2 separate regions of the Homo sapiens genome follow, and region 1 is linked to region 2. Evidence: promoter capture Hi-C in 16 types of primary human blood cells and fetal thymus (Javierre and others, 2016). All regions are on one chromosome and are shown on one strand. Each heading gives the region's core, a stretch centred on a gene start or on the middle of the fragment in contact. The rest is flanking DNA. Distances are from core to core; before and after follow the strand shown.

Region 1 (7,147 bases), core at 3,415-5,914, 76 kb before region 2:
CCCTGTCCCTGGGAGGGAGCTCTCCCTGAGATGCACCCAGCCCGCTCTCTGACCTGGAGTTTTGGTGTCCTGCTGATCCCAGGCGACAGTGGACAGTGGCTCCATCAACTTCTGGCAATCGGTTTGGCAGATTTACAGGCATCAAACAACAACAAAAAAATTGCTGAACGTGCGTGTAGGGAAGCGTTTTTGTGCCAGTGTGCTGTGACAGTGCAAAGAATTTCAGTAAAGAGGAGGCAAATTTCTTTGAAATTAGAACATTCAAAGTAACTACTCAACTCAGGCCTTTTGATATTGCCTTAAGAAATCTGTTTTGCCCATAAAATCGGGTCTCCGCTGTTCGCATCACACAGCTGACATGTATTTCAATTTTCAGAGAGCAACTTCTTCCACTTTGCCTTCTGTAATTCAAAATAGAAATCTTTAAGTCCTCGGGAAATTGTTTTTATAATATTCTAAAGTGAAAATACTTGCAAATGTGTACTTTTTGGAACAAGCGTAAATTTTAAATTCAGGACTAAAGTAACCTTTTATGTGTGAACTTGTCTCTACTGTAAATCACAAGCGTCGTATTCTTTATTCTTTGAGCGTGTCTCAATTGCCCTGTGTTTTCATGAGACTGGAGTTGCTGGGTAGGGGATTGAGCTGGGCTCGGAGGCTGCTCTACGTGCTTCATATGCTTCCAGTGTTTGCTTGTACAGCTGGTGCAGCCCCAGGCATCTCCAGCCTATGGGCACCAATAATAATCTGGTAATGCCTGCTATGGTATTGCCCCCATCCTCAGTTGGGGTCTCGGCTCCCTGCAAGGTTCTCTCAATCCCCCCCATATATCTGTGGGTGTCCCACCTGTGCTCAGGCCCAGGCAGCTGCCAGCTGGCATCTGATGGGCACCAACACTGCTGATGCTTGGCACACCAGCGCTGGTCTTTGCTGGACAAAGCCGTCCCTTCCCTTGGCCCAGTCCCTGGCATCTGTCTCCGAGTGCCCTGGGTGGCAGGTGGGGAGAAGGCTCATCTCTATGGTTTGCTGAAGGGCTCAGGCTATGCCATTAAGCCCTAGGTGCCTGGAAGGTTTTGCAAGAATAGCTCTTTCAGGTTGTTACTCACGGTCTTTCTAGGACCCGGATGTGGCCAGGCTAGGCAGGGGCCTGGGCTGAGCACAGAGGCTGATGTCGGTTATGGTCTCGGGGTCCTGCTCCCTGCAGTGCAACCTGCACTTGTTAATGCATCAGCCTCTCCTGCCCGCTCCTGCCCCCTGTTCCTCCAGGAAACAGGGTTCTAGGCCTGCCCCATCATTTGCTAGAAACTCGCATCCCAGCTTGAGCTCACACTGTACTCGGAATACACAGTTTCCTCACAGCCAGAAATGCACATCAACCCATTGGCCATATTCCTAAATGTGCAGCAACTCAGACCCTTCCATGGAGCATCTGGTACCACTTGCTATGGGGTGCCACTGAGCACAGGAGGAGTGAGAGACACCTTCAAAGATCAGGAGAAGGTGGGGACAGAACTGAAGTCTCCAGACTTCTTCTGGCTTCAGTTCTCCAACCAGGAAATGAGCGGGTTGTACCTGTTGACCTCCAAGGACACTTTAAGCTCTTTAAACCATTAGGAGAAAGAATTAAACATTATTGGCTGGGTGTGGTGGCTCACGCCTGGAATCCCAGTGGTTTGGGAGGTCAAGGGAGGATCACTTGAGGCCAAGAGTTTGAGACCAGCCTGGGTAACATAGTGAGACACCATGTCTACAAAAAATTAAAAAATTGGCTGGGTATGGTGACACAAACCTGTAGTCCCAGCTATTCAGGAGGCTGAGGCAGGAGGATCATTTGAGCAAAAGAGTTTGAGGCTGCAGTGAGCTACGATCACGGCACTGCACTCTAGCCCGGGCGACAGAGTGAGACCCTGTCTTAAAACAAACAAACAAACAAAAACCCACCTGAGCCACCTCTCTTTCAGTGACCTCATTTGGAACATCCATCCATTTTCAGCCTATTTTCTTCGCAAATAGGAACATTATGGTTACGAATTTCCCTACAAGTATTGCTTTGGTGGCATCCCACAAGTTTTGGTGGGTAGTATTTTCACCACCATTCAGTTCTGAGTATTAGAGATTTCCACTATGATTTCTCAATGGACTCATGAATGACTTAGAGGCATAGTGTTAATTTGTTTTTTGATGAAAGGGTAGGTAATACATTCAAAAGTTTCAATATTCAAAACGCATAAAAAGTCTACAAGGAAAACTATTTTTTCTACTCCTGTCCCCCAGCCAGCCACCCATAGGCAATTACTATTATTCATTAGCTGAGAGTCCATCCAGGTAAAGTTTATGCACACAAAGTAAAATGTGTATATATGAATATAGAAATATATATTATGTATGTGTGTAAATATGCATATATTGCTTTTCCTAGACAAACCTTACTCCTTCAGCTCTGAAGTGTGTTTTAGCTTGTCCTTAGAAAAATGTCTTAGAGATCATTTGGCATCAGTATGTGAAGAGCTTCCTCATTTGTTTTTACAAATGCATTGTATTCCATTGAATTTGATGAACCATAATCTAAATGTCAGGTTCTCTATTGATATATATTTATGTTGTTTATAGTTCTTTGAAATTTATAAACAACATTGCAATAAAAACCCTTTCTTTTACCCATTATTTCATAGGCAGCAAGCAGGTCGGTAGAAGTGGAGTTGCTAAATCAAAGCATATGTGCATATCAATTTTGACAGCTGTTGCCAAATGCTTTCCATTGAGGCTGTGCCGTATCTACCTAGAGCAGCGTAGAGTGAGAGGTCCTATTTACCTCCTGGCTTTTCCAACAGAACGTCCTATCAAATCTTGGTTCTTTGTTGATCTATTAGTGAATAACAGTATCATTCTAGCTTTATTGATATTTCTGTTATTGTAAGTGAGGTTGAGCATATTTTCATGTTTTAAATTAATTTATACAGATCTTGGTTTTGAAATGCCATTCTCCAGTGAAAGGAACTGGGGATCCTTGGAGAAATGGCTGATTCTAGGTCTGGGGCAGGGAATATACAAGATCAGCCTGGAGCATCTTTCAGTGTTGGAAGCAAGGAAGCACTCAAAACACAACAAAACCAGAACAACCCACAGTGACGGGGTTATGTCAAAGGCTCATGGGAACCAACTGCAAAGGCTCCCAGCAGCCTAAGAACCACTTGAGCAGCAAAATAAATAATGTAGTGCTGGACCATAGCCCAACGTATTAAATAAATATACATCAGTCCACGTATAAATAAATATACATCAGTCCACATATAAATGAATATACATCAGCCTGCATATAAATAAATATACATCAGTTCACACATAAATAAATATACGTCAGTCCACATATAATATACATCAGTCCACATATAAATAAATATACATCAGTCCGCATATAAATAAATATACATCAGTCCACATATAAATAAATATACATCAGTCCACATATAAATAAATATACATCAGTCCACATATAAATAAATATCCATCAGCTCACATATAAATAAATATACATAAGTCCACATATAAATACATATACGTCAGTCCACATATAAATAAATGATTGAATAAATAAATAAATGGGGGGAGAAGGGACAAATCTTCCTTATAGAAGAATCCCAAAAATATATGTAGATATCCACCCCGTAGATGGTGAAGTTTAATTCCCCTCCCCTTGAGTGTGGGCTGGATTTAGTGATTGGCTTCCTAAGAATAGAAGATGGGAAGCAACAACAGTAGCTTTACCGTGGAGGAAACTGCAGACACCATCCAAACCACGTGATGATGGTCAACATCACCAATGATGCCACGTGAGTACCACACACACCCCCTGCTGTGATGTGATGAAGGGAGTCCTTAAACTCATATCCCCTCTCTAGTCATGAAAAAAGTCAGACAATCCTAAACTGAGGGACATTCTATGAGATACCCGACCACTACTCTTCAAAACTGTCGAGGTTATGATAAACAAAGACAGATGGAGATACTGTCACCAACCAGGGGACACCAAAGAGACACATACATGTGAGTGGCACTCTAGATATGAGCCTGGGACAGAGAAGGGAATTATTGAGAAAAATTAGTAGAATATGAACAAAGCTTATAATTTGGTTAATAGTAATGAATGTGCTAATGCTAATACCTTAATTTTGACAAATACACCACAGTTATTATGTAAGATGTTAGCATTAGGGGAACTGAAAGAAAGGTGTACAGAAAATCTTTGTATTATCATTGTAATTTTTCTGTAAATCTAAAATTATTCCAAAATATAAAAGGTTATTTTTAAAAAGTTATTTGTATTTTTTAAATGAATAGTTTACTCATCCCCTTTGACATTTTTTCTTTTGGTGATTAGCCTCTTTCTTGTTTATTTATAGAAGTTCTTTACATATTAGTCTTTGATTAATTATACTTATTTTCTCCAATTTGACTATTTTTTGATTTTACTTAAAGTCATCTTTTCCCATTCAGATTTTTTTTTTTTTTTATACAGGATCTCTGTCACCCAGGCTGGAGTGCTGTGGCACAATCATGGCTCACTGCAGTCTTGACTTCTTGGGCTCAGGTGATCCTCCTACCTCAGTCTCCTGAATAACTGGGACCACAGGTGCACATCACAATGCCCAGCTAATTTAGAAAACATTATTTGTAGAGACAGGTGTCATTATGTTGCCCAGGCTGGTCTCAAACTCCTCAGCTCAAGTAATCCTCCCACCTCAGCCTCCCAAAGTACTGGGTGTAAGCCACTGCACCCAGCCCAGAAATGTTTTAATTTATATAGTCAAATTTCTTCATTTTTTATTTCTTTTGTGCCTCTTAACTTTGTGTTATAGTTGGTAAGGGCTTCTCCCATTTCAATCTTATAAAATAATTATGCTATGTTCACTCAGTGCTTTTATTTTAAGAAGTACTGTTTTTATTTTTCCAGTATTGTATTCTTCCAGGTTTTAGAAATTTATTAATTTCTGAAGCTGCATCAGTTAGCACACAGTCAAGAGACAGGAACCACCCCAGTTATCTGAACAGAGAGGATTTAATATAAATAATTGTTAACTAGATAAACAGTTGTTAACTAGGTAAATAAAATGGTAAAAAAGAGAAATGTAGCCTATCAAGGGATTAGCAACCACAGGCAGCAGCTGCCACCCCCAGGGCTGAGGGAGCAAAGGGAAGAAGCTGGAATTATTAAAGCTTAGTAATTAAAGGAGAGGCCCCCTGGGCTTGGGACCCAGACTTCTGAGGAGAAACTCTGGTGGGTGCTGGTGTATCTGTGGGATAGAGAGGGGACAAGACGAAATTGGTTTGCAAATGTCTAAAAAACTGCAAGCTGGATTTCACAGCTGCAGGAACTGCTGCAGCCAGGGTGAAGCAGCTCTGCTGGGAGGATGCTCATCAGAACAGGAAGCCAACTGGAAGGAGCAGGTCCCTTCTTCCAGCCCAGCTTGTTAGTCTCTCTCTAGTGCCCCCTATTGGCAGACCCTAACAGGGATGTGACTGTCAAAGCAGAAATGTTTGCAGAGTTCCATCACCAGTATCACAAAACCGAATACAGAAGGCTGGTTTGGAAATGAGACAATAGTTTAATAACGGACCCACTTGCTTATGAAAAACAATTCAATGACGTTTGAACACTTCAGTTCACCTTATTCCATCTTATATTTCATTGGCGAATTACAGTGACTACAAAAAGTTGCCTTAGCTTTAGTTTGTTTTTTTAATCTTTCAAAATAAGTAATATATTACTATTTTATACAGTCTATACATCTTGTTAAGAATTATCCACATCACACCCGTTCATTTGCCCATAATTTCTTCTTCTTTTTTCCTCTATAAACTTCTCCATTCTCCTATTAGTGCTTCCTAAGACTACGAAAACAATCAAGTTGTACACAAATACTTGTGTCAGGGTCAGCTTCTAGGATAGCTAAAATTAAAACAGAGCCCAAAGGCTCCTGTATCAGAATTAATGAATGTAACATTTTAAACAGACTATATTTATACTGTTAAAAGAAATAAAAGATGGATTGAAAACATGAGTAAGATATAAGAGACTTCAAACATAACTAGGCACATTTTTTAAAAAGCTAATAGAATTCCTAGAACTGAAAGTATTATTATTGATATTAAAGACTCAATGTATAGACTGCAGAACATACTGAACACAGTTGAAGAGAGAATTGGTGAAATGGAATGTAGACACTATACAGTAAAAGTCCAAAGAGGAAAGTAAAGGAAGTCCATGGATGCATTACCAAGCAAGTGTCAATGTGAGCCACAGAAATGCAAAGCAGAGGAACTCTGGAGACAGTGCAGAACATGCATGGGGGCTATTCCAGTCTGGAGGTATTTATTTTCAAACTTCTTTTCATCATTGGCTGATGTTGCAAGGATGTTGCAGGGGAATTAATTTCCAGGCACTTCCAGTCTTCTCCCTGTGCATTGGGACAGAGCCTTTAGACAGACACTTGAAAAGGATGCCACCAGCATGCACTGGAACAGTGAGGGCTGAGGAGACTTGGGTGGGGCACCTAAGGGAACATCTGCCATCATTCACCCCTTGAACAGCTCAGATGCACTCATGCTGCAAGTAAAGTTGACTCTGCTCCATCCCTGCTTCTTCAAGGTTGTGGCCTATCACAATTTCTAAAAAATAACAGGCAGGTCAGGTGTGGTGGTTCATGCCTGTAGTGCCAGCACTTTGGAAGCCTGGGGCAGGAGGATCACTTGAGCCCAAGAACTCAAGACCAACCTGGGCAACATAGTGAGACCCCAGTCTCCACTAAATAAATAAAACAATTAGCTGGGCATGGTGGTGCACACCTGTAGTCCCAGCTACTTGGGAGGCTGAGGTGAGAGGATCACTTGAGCACAGTAGGTGGAGGCTGCAGTGAGCTGTGATTGTGCCACTGCATTCCTGCAGCCTGGGCGACAGAGTGAGACCCTTTCTCAAAAAAAGAAAAAATAATACAACCGGAATATTAGCAGGACGAAGTGCAGTCCCTGCCGCCTCAGTGGGTCCCAGGGCCATACCTGACATTCATTATCTCTTTCCTCTACCAACTATTCTGGATTCCCTGCACCCTGGGCCTGTACTTCTGCTGGTCTTGGTGGCTTGCCTGGTGGG
Region 2 (7,313 bases), core at 4,197-6,696:
TTGGCCAGGCTGGTCTCGAACTTCTGACCTCAGGTGATTCACCTGCCTCAGCCTCCCAAAGTGCTGGGATTACAGGCGTGAGCCACCGCGCCCGGCCAAGGATGTGACATTGCTGATTGACTCTGTCAGATACTTTTCACTCTGGCTTCCGGGGCATCCTGCTGTCCTGGTTTCCAGGCCTCACTGGTTTTGCCTTCACAGCTCTTTTGCTGGGTCATCCTCTTACTGACCTCTCAACATCAGAGACCAAAGGCTCCATCACAAACGTCATCTCTTTGCTATGAAAGCTTGCACCCTACGTGAGCTTATCCAGTCCTGTGACTTAAAATGCCTTTTATCCCCTAATTATTCCCAAGTCGCTCCATGATGCCACCACCTGGATGGCTAATAGACATGTCAATATCATCACACAAAAAAAGATTTATTTTCCCATCAAACTTGCTTCTCCCCGAGTGTTCTGCTTCTCTGTAAATGGCCCACCATCCACCCACCACCCACCTGATCATCAGTTTATCCTTTTTCTTCACCCTCGGCCCTGTATTTAGTCAAAGAAAAGCAATATGCCCCAAACCCAAGCATTTCTCTCCACCTGCCCTAATCCCCTAGCCCTGACCCTCATTGCTCACATGATCCACCCCAACAGCCTCCTGGGGGAACCCCTTCTTCTATATTTGTCCCATTTTCAGTCTGTTCTCCACACAGCAGCCAGGGAGATTTGTAAAAACATTAGTCAGATCATGCCACTTCTCTCCTCAAAACCCTATAAGGAAGTGTATGTTTTGGCCCCAAAACTGCTCTACTTTTCCCACTCACTTCTCCCCAACCATACTGGCCTCCTTCCTACTTCTTGAGCATAAAATCACATGCCCACCCCAGGGTCTTTGCATAATACTCTTCCCTCTGCCTGCAATATTCTTTCCCCAGTCAACTGTGTGTCTTGTCCCCTCATCTACTTGGGTCTCTTTCAATGCCACCTCCACAGAGAAGTCTTCCCTGACTGCCCCACCCAAAGTGGCAACATGATCCTTACTCTCTGCCCCTTATGCTATCTTGTTCTCTCCACAGCATGATTACTACTTGTCACTATATTCATTTATTTCTTGATGTGTTTCTCCTCTCTCATTGGCATGTCTTTCTACATATCAATGAGAACAGGGAATTATCTTGTTTGTTCACCGCTGCATCCCTGTGCCTAGAGCAGTGGCTGGTGCATTATCAACACTCAGCTCAACAAATGAATATTGATATTAAGAAGAAAGACACTCTTCTTTTTTTTTTTTTTTTTTTTTTGAGACAGAATCTTGCTCTGTCACCCAGGCTGGAGTGCAGTGGCGTGATCTTGGCTCCACTGCAACCTCCGCCTCATGGATTCAAGCAATTCTCCTGCCTCAGCAACCCTGGTAGCTGGGATTACAGGTGTGTGCCACCACCTCTGGCTAATTTTTGTATTTTTACTAGAGGCAGGGTTTCCCCATGTTGGCCAGGCTGGTCTCAAACTCCTGACCTCAAGTGATCCACTCGCCTCGGCCTCCCAAAGTGCTGGGATTCCGGCCGTGAGCCACCACGCCTGGCCCAAGAGAAACACTCGTAATATCCACTAAGAGATCAAGGAAATTATTCCACCTATGAAACAAGAAGTGGAAACTAGGAAACAAGAAGAAGCAGTTATAGGAAGAACCAAACACGGATTCTGAAATGGAAATTACACATTCTGAAATTAAAATGCTGGTGATTTGGGGCTGGGTGCAGTGGCTCATGCCTATAATCCCAGTACTTTGGGAGGCCGAGGTGGGCAGATCAGTTGAGGCCAGGAGTTCGAGACCAGCCTGGCCAACATGGTGAAACCCCATCGATATTAAAAATACAAAAATTAGCTGGGCATGGTGGCACATGCCTATAGACCCAGCTACTTAGGAGGCTGAGGCATGAGAATTGCTTGAACCTGGGCAGTGGAGACTGCAATGGGCCAAGATGGCGCCACTGCACTCCAGCCTGGGCAACAGAGCAAGACTCTGACTCAACTTAAAAAAAAAAAAGTGGAGAAAGCTGCATGAGAAGCATTTTTTTGGGAGAGCTCAGCTTTGGCCACACTAAGTGTGAGATGTTTATTAAGCACCTAAGATTAGGCAGTTGGATCAAAATCTAGCATTCCAAGAAGAGGTACAGGCTAAAGATGTGAATGGACCAGATGATAGAGAATATAGAGAAGACCAAGGAGTGAGCTCAGTGGCCTCCAATGTTAACAGTGTGTGGAGAAGAGGAAAACCCAACCAAGAAGATTGAGAACTAGTGAGTCCTGGAGGCCCAGGGAAGAAAGTATTCTCAGATGGAGATCAGAGACAGATGGCTCAAGTAAGATGAGGACTGAAAATGTCATTGAATCTAGCAGCATGGAGGTCATTGGTGACAGCAGAGTGATAGGGGCAAAACCTTGATGGGAATGAATCCAAAAACAAACAAAAAAATGGGAAGACAGAAACTGGAAATGAGTGTCAATAATACTTTCATAGAATTTTGTTGTAAATACAAGCAAAGGTGGGGCAGTCGCTTAAGAAGAAAGAGGGGCTCAAATGGAGGGGGAGTTTTTGGAAGGCTACAGAAAAAAATGGCATATTTGTACATTGGTGGAAATTATCCAGTAGCGAGGGAAAGACAAATGCCAAAGAGAGATGTGAGCAGGCAAAGGGGGGTGGGCTCTAGGCACACAGTGAGGGGTTGGCATGGATGAGAGAGAAACCAAACTGGGTGGAAGGAAGGCAGAATGTGGGGGCACCAAGGCAGGTGAGCTGGTGAGAGAATTAGACTGTTGGCTTCTGATGGCTTCTATTGTTTTAGTGAAATAAGAAAAAAGGTCATCTATTGAGAGAGAGGATAGAAGAGAAGGTGGTAGGTTTGAAGAGAGAAGATGGTATCAAATAACCCCTGGTTTGTGTGTTCAAATATAAGGGTAACAGAAATAAAACGTACAACTGACAGACCAAGACAGTAGAAGAATATAACAAGAAAACTTAATGGATTCAGTAGAAATTAGGAACAAGGAAACCAAGATTTAAAGGGAAAATGTGGTAAACAAGAAAACATACAGTAAGTCCAAACATGTCAATAATTACAATAAATGTGAACAGGTTAAAATCGCTAATTAAAAGGCAGAGGTATTTCTTTTGGATTTTACAAAAGGAAATGTAAAGCTTATTTGGCAGCTCAAGCTGATGAAGCTAAACATATCAGTTACTAAAACAAAGTCTGCACATATTTACACCAAACTGTAAACAGTAGTGTAACTCACTGGTTGATGAGTATATGAGGGATCTTTATTTTCATTTCAATATGTTCTGAATTTTTGAGGAAGTGTGTAAATTATTTCATAATTAGAAAATAAATGAAATTTTTAAAAAAATCATCCATGCACTTCAGCAAGTCTCCATGGAACCTTTATTTGTTGTCCAAATCAGTTCCAAAGAGCCTCTAAAGAAGGGTTCCAGACTACCAGGAGCTCACTGGAAATAAGACCAACTGGACCATAATAGAAGAATGCAGGTCATGGCTGGGTGCCGCAACTCACACCACTTTGGGAGGCCAAGGCAGGCAGATCACCTGAGGTCAGGAGTTTGAGAAGAATGCAGGACAGTGTAAAGATGAGATTCCACTGACAACTCTGAGCCCTAGTTGTAGGCAGGAATAAGTGAAGAGAGCCCGCTGGAGGAGGAGTATTTGGACTGTGCCCATTCCACACAGTATGTGGCCTAAGGGTGAGCCTGGAGACAGCATTCCAGGCTGGAGGTCCAACATAAGCAAGGGTGGGAACTGAGAAAGCATGTACAGGGCATGTGGTGGAAGCAGTGGATGACTCAAGGTGCAGAGCCCAGGGAGGCAAAGAAGTTGGCTTGGTAAGCCATGTGGAGGGGCAGCGGGAAGAGTCGGTGAAGCAAAAAGAAGCAGATGGGAGGGGCATTTATGCCTCAAATGGAGAGTTTTATGCCCAAAGCTCATAAGAGCAAACACCTGGGTTGCCATCACTGCTGCACTGCACATATACGCATGCACACATGTACACACATGCACTTGTGCAAACACATGTGCACACATACACAGACATGTGCACACACCCACATATACATACACTTCTTTTTTTTCTTTTCTTTTTTTTTTTTTTTTTGAGATAAGAGTCTTTCTCTGTCAACCAGGCTGGAGGGCAGTGGTGCAATCTCAGCTTGCTGCAACCTCTGCCTCCTGGGTTCAAGAGATTCTCCTGCCTCAGCCTCCCAAGTAGCTGGAATTACAGCTGTGCACCACGACCATGCTCAGCTAACTTTTGTATTTTTAGTAGAGATGGGTTTTTGCCATGTTGGCCAAGCTGGTCTTGAACTCTTGACCTCAAGTGATCCCCCCACCTCGGCCTCCCAAAGTGCTGGGATTACAGGCATGAGCCACCACGCCCGGCCATGCACACACACTTTTTAACTGCTTTGTGTTCTCTGGCCCTTTCGCCTACAGAATTAGCTATCGAGACCAAGGGGGTTCTCTTGGCCTCGGTCCAGCCTTTCCTGAACCCCACACCCTGCATCAGCACACACTGCTGTCCACTCACCTGCCCTAGTAAGTCACCACTAGCTGTTGTTGACTGGGAGCCCCTTGGCTTTTAAGCAGGATTTGACCCAAGGGCTCGCAGTGCGTGGTGGGTCCAGGGGCAGGAGTTGAGGCAGAAAGACAAGGGCAGGGACAGCTGTGGAGTGGGGGAGGTGGGAGAGAGAAATCCTTAGGAGGCAAAACTAGCCAGGCTTGGCCCCTGGTGGATTTGGGAGGCAGGGAGCAGGAGGCGTGAACCAAGACGCTGGGTTCCAGGCCAGACACTGTGACATGAGAGGCCATAGCTGAGGTGGGGCTCTGCAGGAGGCATAGATTTGGGGAGGGGACAGAGATCTCAGGGTGGCATTGGGCACACCGAACCTGGGGAGTCTGTGGGGTGTCTGTTGATGCTGGGAAGCTCCACCGAGGACTCAGGACAGGGTAACAGCAAAGCGGGCACAGGACGCCAACCACAGCAGGTGAGTGGAGGCAGGAGCCACGGGTGGGGCCAGGCCACACAGCCTGGGAGGCGCAGGGGCTGGGCAGCTGCCAGTGACCCAAGCCCACACAGAGACTTGCACAGCTGCCCCAGCCCCAAATTAGGGGGATCCCCTGGCCCACCTTCTCTTGGCTCAGCCACTCTGGGAGGTGGGCACACAGGGGCACCGAAGGGAGCAGGCAGCCCTGGCATCCCACAGCCGCCAGGAGAAAAACTTAGGCCTCCCCAAGACCTGGCACAGAGCAGGCCGGCCCTGGCCCCCAAGCAGAGGAGGCTGCACCTCCCTCGCGTCTGTGCCTGCCTCAACGCGGGTTAAACTTTGACCAAGGAAATGATTGCTAAACTCGATTCCATAAGTGTCACCGGTCACACTTTAATTCCAGTCTAAAATTAAAGTCTTCAGTCTCCACATTCCCTACTTTCCAAATTCAGCTTTCCCGGGAGGTCTGGAGCAGCTGCCTCTCTGGGGAGATGCTGGAGGTCTCGGAATCACCTCACGCGGCCTCAGGGCCCAGTTGGAGCCACCCCAAGTGACACCAGCAGGCAGATGACCAGAGAGCCTGAGCCTCCGGCCCCGAGTCTGTGAAGCCTAGCCGCTGGGCTGGAGAAGCCACTGTGGGCACCACCGTGGGGGAAACAGGCCCGTTGCCCTGGCCTCTTTGCCCTGGGCCAGCCTTTGTGAAGTGGGCCCCTCTTCTGGGCCCCTTGAGTAGGTTCCATGGCATTTTCTGAACTCCTGGACCTCGTGGGTGGCCTGGGCAGGTTCCAGGTTCTCCAGACGATGGCTCTGATGGTCTCCATCATGTGGCTGTGTACCCAGAGCATGCTGGAGAACTTCTCGGCCGCCGTGCCCAGCCACCGCTGCTGGGCACCCCTCCTGGACAACAGCACGGCTCAGGCCAGCATCCTAGGGAGCTTGAGTCCTGAGGCCCTCCTGGCTATTTCCATCCCGCCGGGCCCCAACCAGAGGCCCCACCAGTGCCGCCGCTTCCGCCAGCCACAGTGGCAGCTCTTGGACCCCAATGCCACGGCCACCAGCTGGAGCGAGGCCGACACGGAGCCGTGTGTGGATGGCTGGGTCTATGACCGCAGCATCTTCACCTCCACAATCGTGGCCAAGGTAGGGCCTCCCCCAGAGCCACTCGAGTCCCACCACCTTGGAGGTCAGTCATGGATCACGGTGGGTCAGACTCAAAGGTCCAGTCCTGGGAGGGACCCACCTCCCCAGGCCCCACTCACTCTCGAGCCTCTCAGCCCCTCGTCAGCCACACACAGGGAAGTGGGCGGCAGGGATCAGTCTACAAATGGGGCCAGCCCAGGCTCTTGGAGGTGCGGGGGGCACCTGGGCGGGCACCTCTAAATGCTGGCACCTGGACACTCACCGGCCTCACCCTGTCCTGGCCCTGCTGACCTGTCAGCCGTGACTCCAGGCAACTCAGCAGCAGGGGGACTCAGTGACAATTCACTGGATTCCCCGAGACCAAAGCACACAGAGTAAGGGATTACCCCAGGCTGCCTCCCAGATGGGGCGCCAGGCAAAGCCAGGCAAGCAGAGAGGGGCAGCTCATCCCAACAAGTGGGAAGAACCTCTTTATAAAGAACAGGAGGGAAGCAACCTCTGGGAGAGGGGTGAGGGTGTCAGCTTGGGTGGCTGCTTCCAAGTGGAGAGACAGGAGAGAGGGGCAGATGTGGCTAGAGACCCATTGGGCAATAGGGAGCCATGGAAGAGTTCAGGCAGAGGGTGGCAGGATATACTCCTCAAAAGGCCAAACTATGCCTGTGGGTGCCCTCACTGTTCCACAGGGTCTTGCTCTAAAACCCTAGAGGTCACCAGACCACCCACCGCACCCAGCTCCCTGGGGGCCCTCCCATGCGGTTCCTCTGCCTCTCTGCTGGGGCTCTCCCAACCTCCTGAGCTCAGCCTCCTCCTCTCCCATCAGTGGAACCTCGTGTGTGACTCTCATGCTCTGAAGCCCATGGCCCAGTCCATCTACCTGGCTGGGATTCTGGTGGGAGCTGCTGCGTGCGGCCCTGCCTCAGACAGGTGAGTACCCCCAGTCCAGGCAGGTCCCAGTTCCCCTCACAACCCCTGCTCTCCTAGGACCCTGGCCGACTGGCCCCAAACCAGCCTCACAAAACCAAGTCTAGAAAGCGCCCTACTTGCTGGGTGTGGGTCTCGGACCAGCCACCCTGCAGCCGTGCCAGGTAGGGAGGTCTGGAACCTTCTCTGAACCTCGAGTTCACCAAC

Evidence for each region. Contacts are between HindIII fragments. The CHiCAGO score rates a contact against its expected background, and 5 or more counts as called.
Region 1: a contact is called between a fragment that was not itself captured here and the fragment with the promoter of SLC22A12 in region 2, in 1 of 17 cell types (M1 macrophages). The highest score is 5.3, in M1 macrophages.

Annotation. Positions count from the first base shown.
Region 1 is chr11:64,510,980-64,518,126 of GRCh38, forward strand. No RefSeq gene overlaps it. Among named protein-coding and RNA genes, the nearest start is that of SLC22A11, 41 kb to the right of the region's middle. The HindIII fragment of the contact is 1,095 bases long and covers 4,118-5,212 here.
Region 2 is chr11:64,585,774-64,593,086 of GRCh38, forward strand. SLC22A12 (solute carrier family 22 member 12) reads left to right here and starts at 5,447. Exons shown (of 10, transcript NM_144585.4): 1 at 5,447-6,185; 2 at 7,006-7,109. The coding sequence starts at 5,784. The HindIII fragment of the contact is 38,603 bases long and covers 3,187-7,313 here.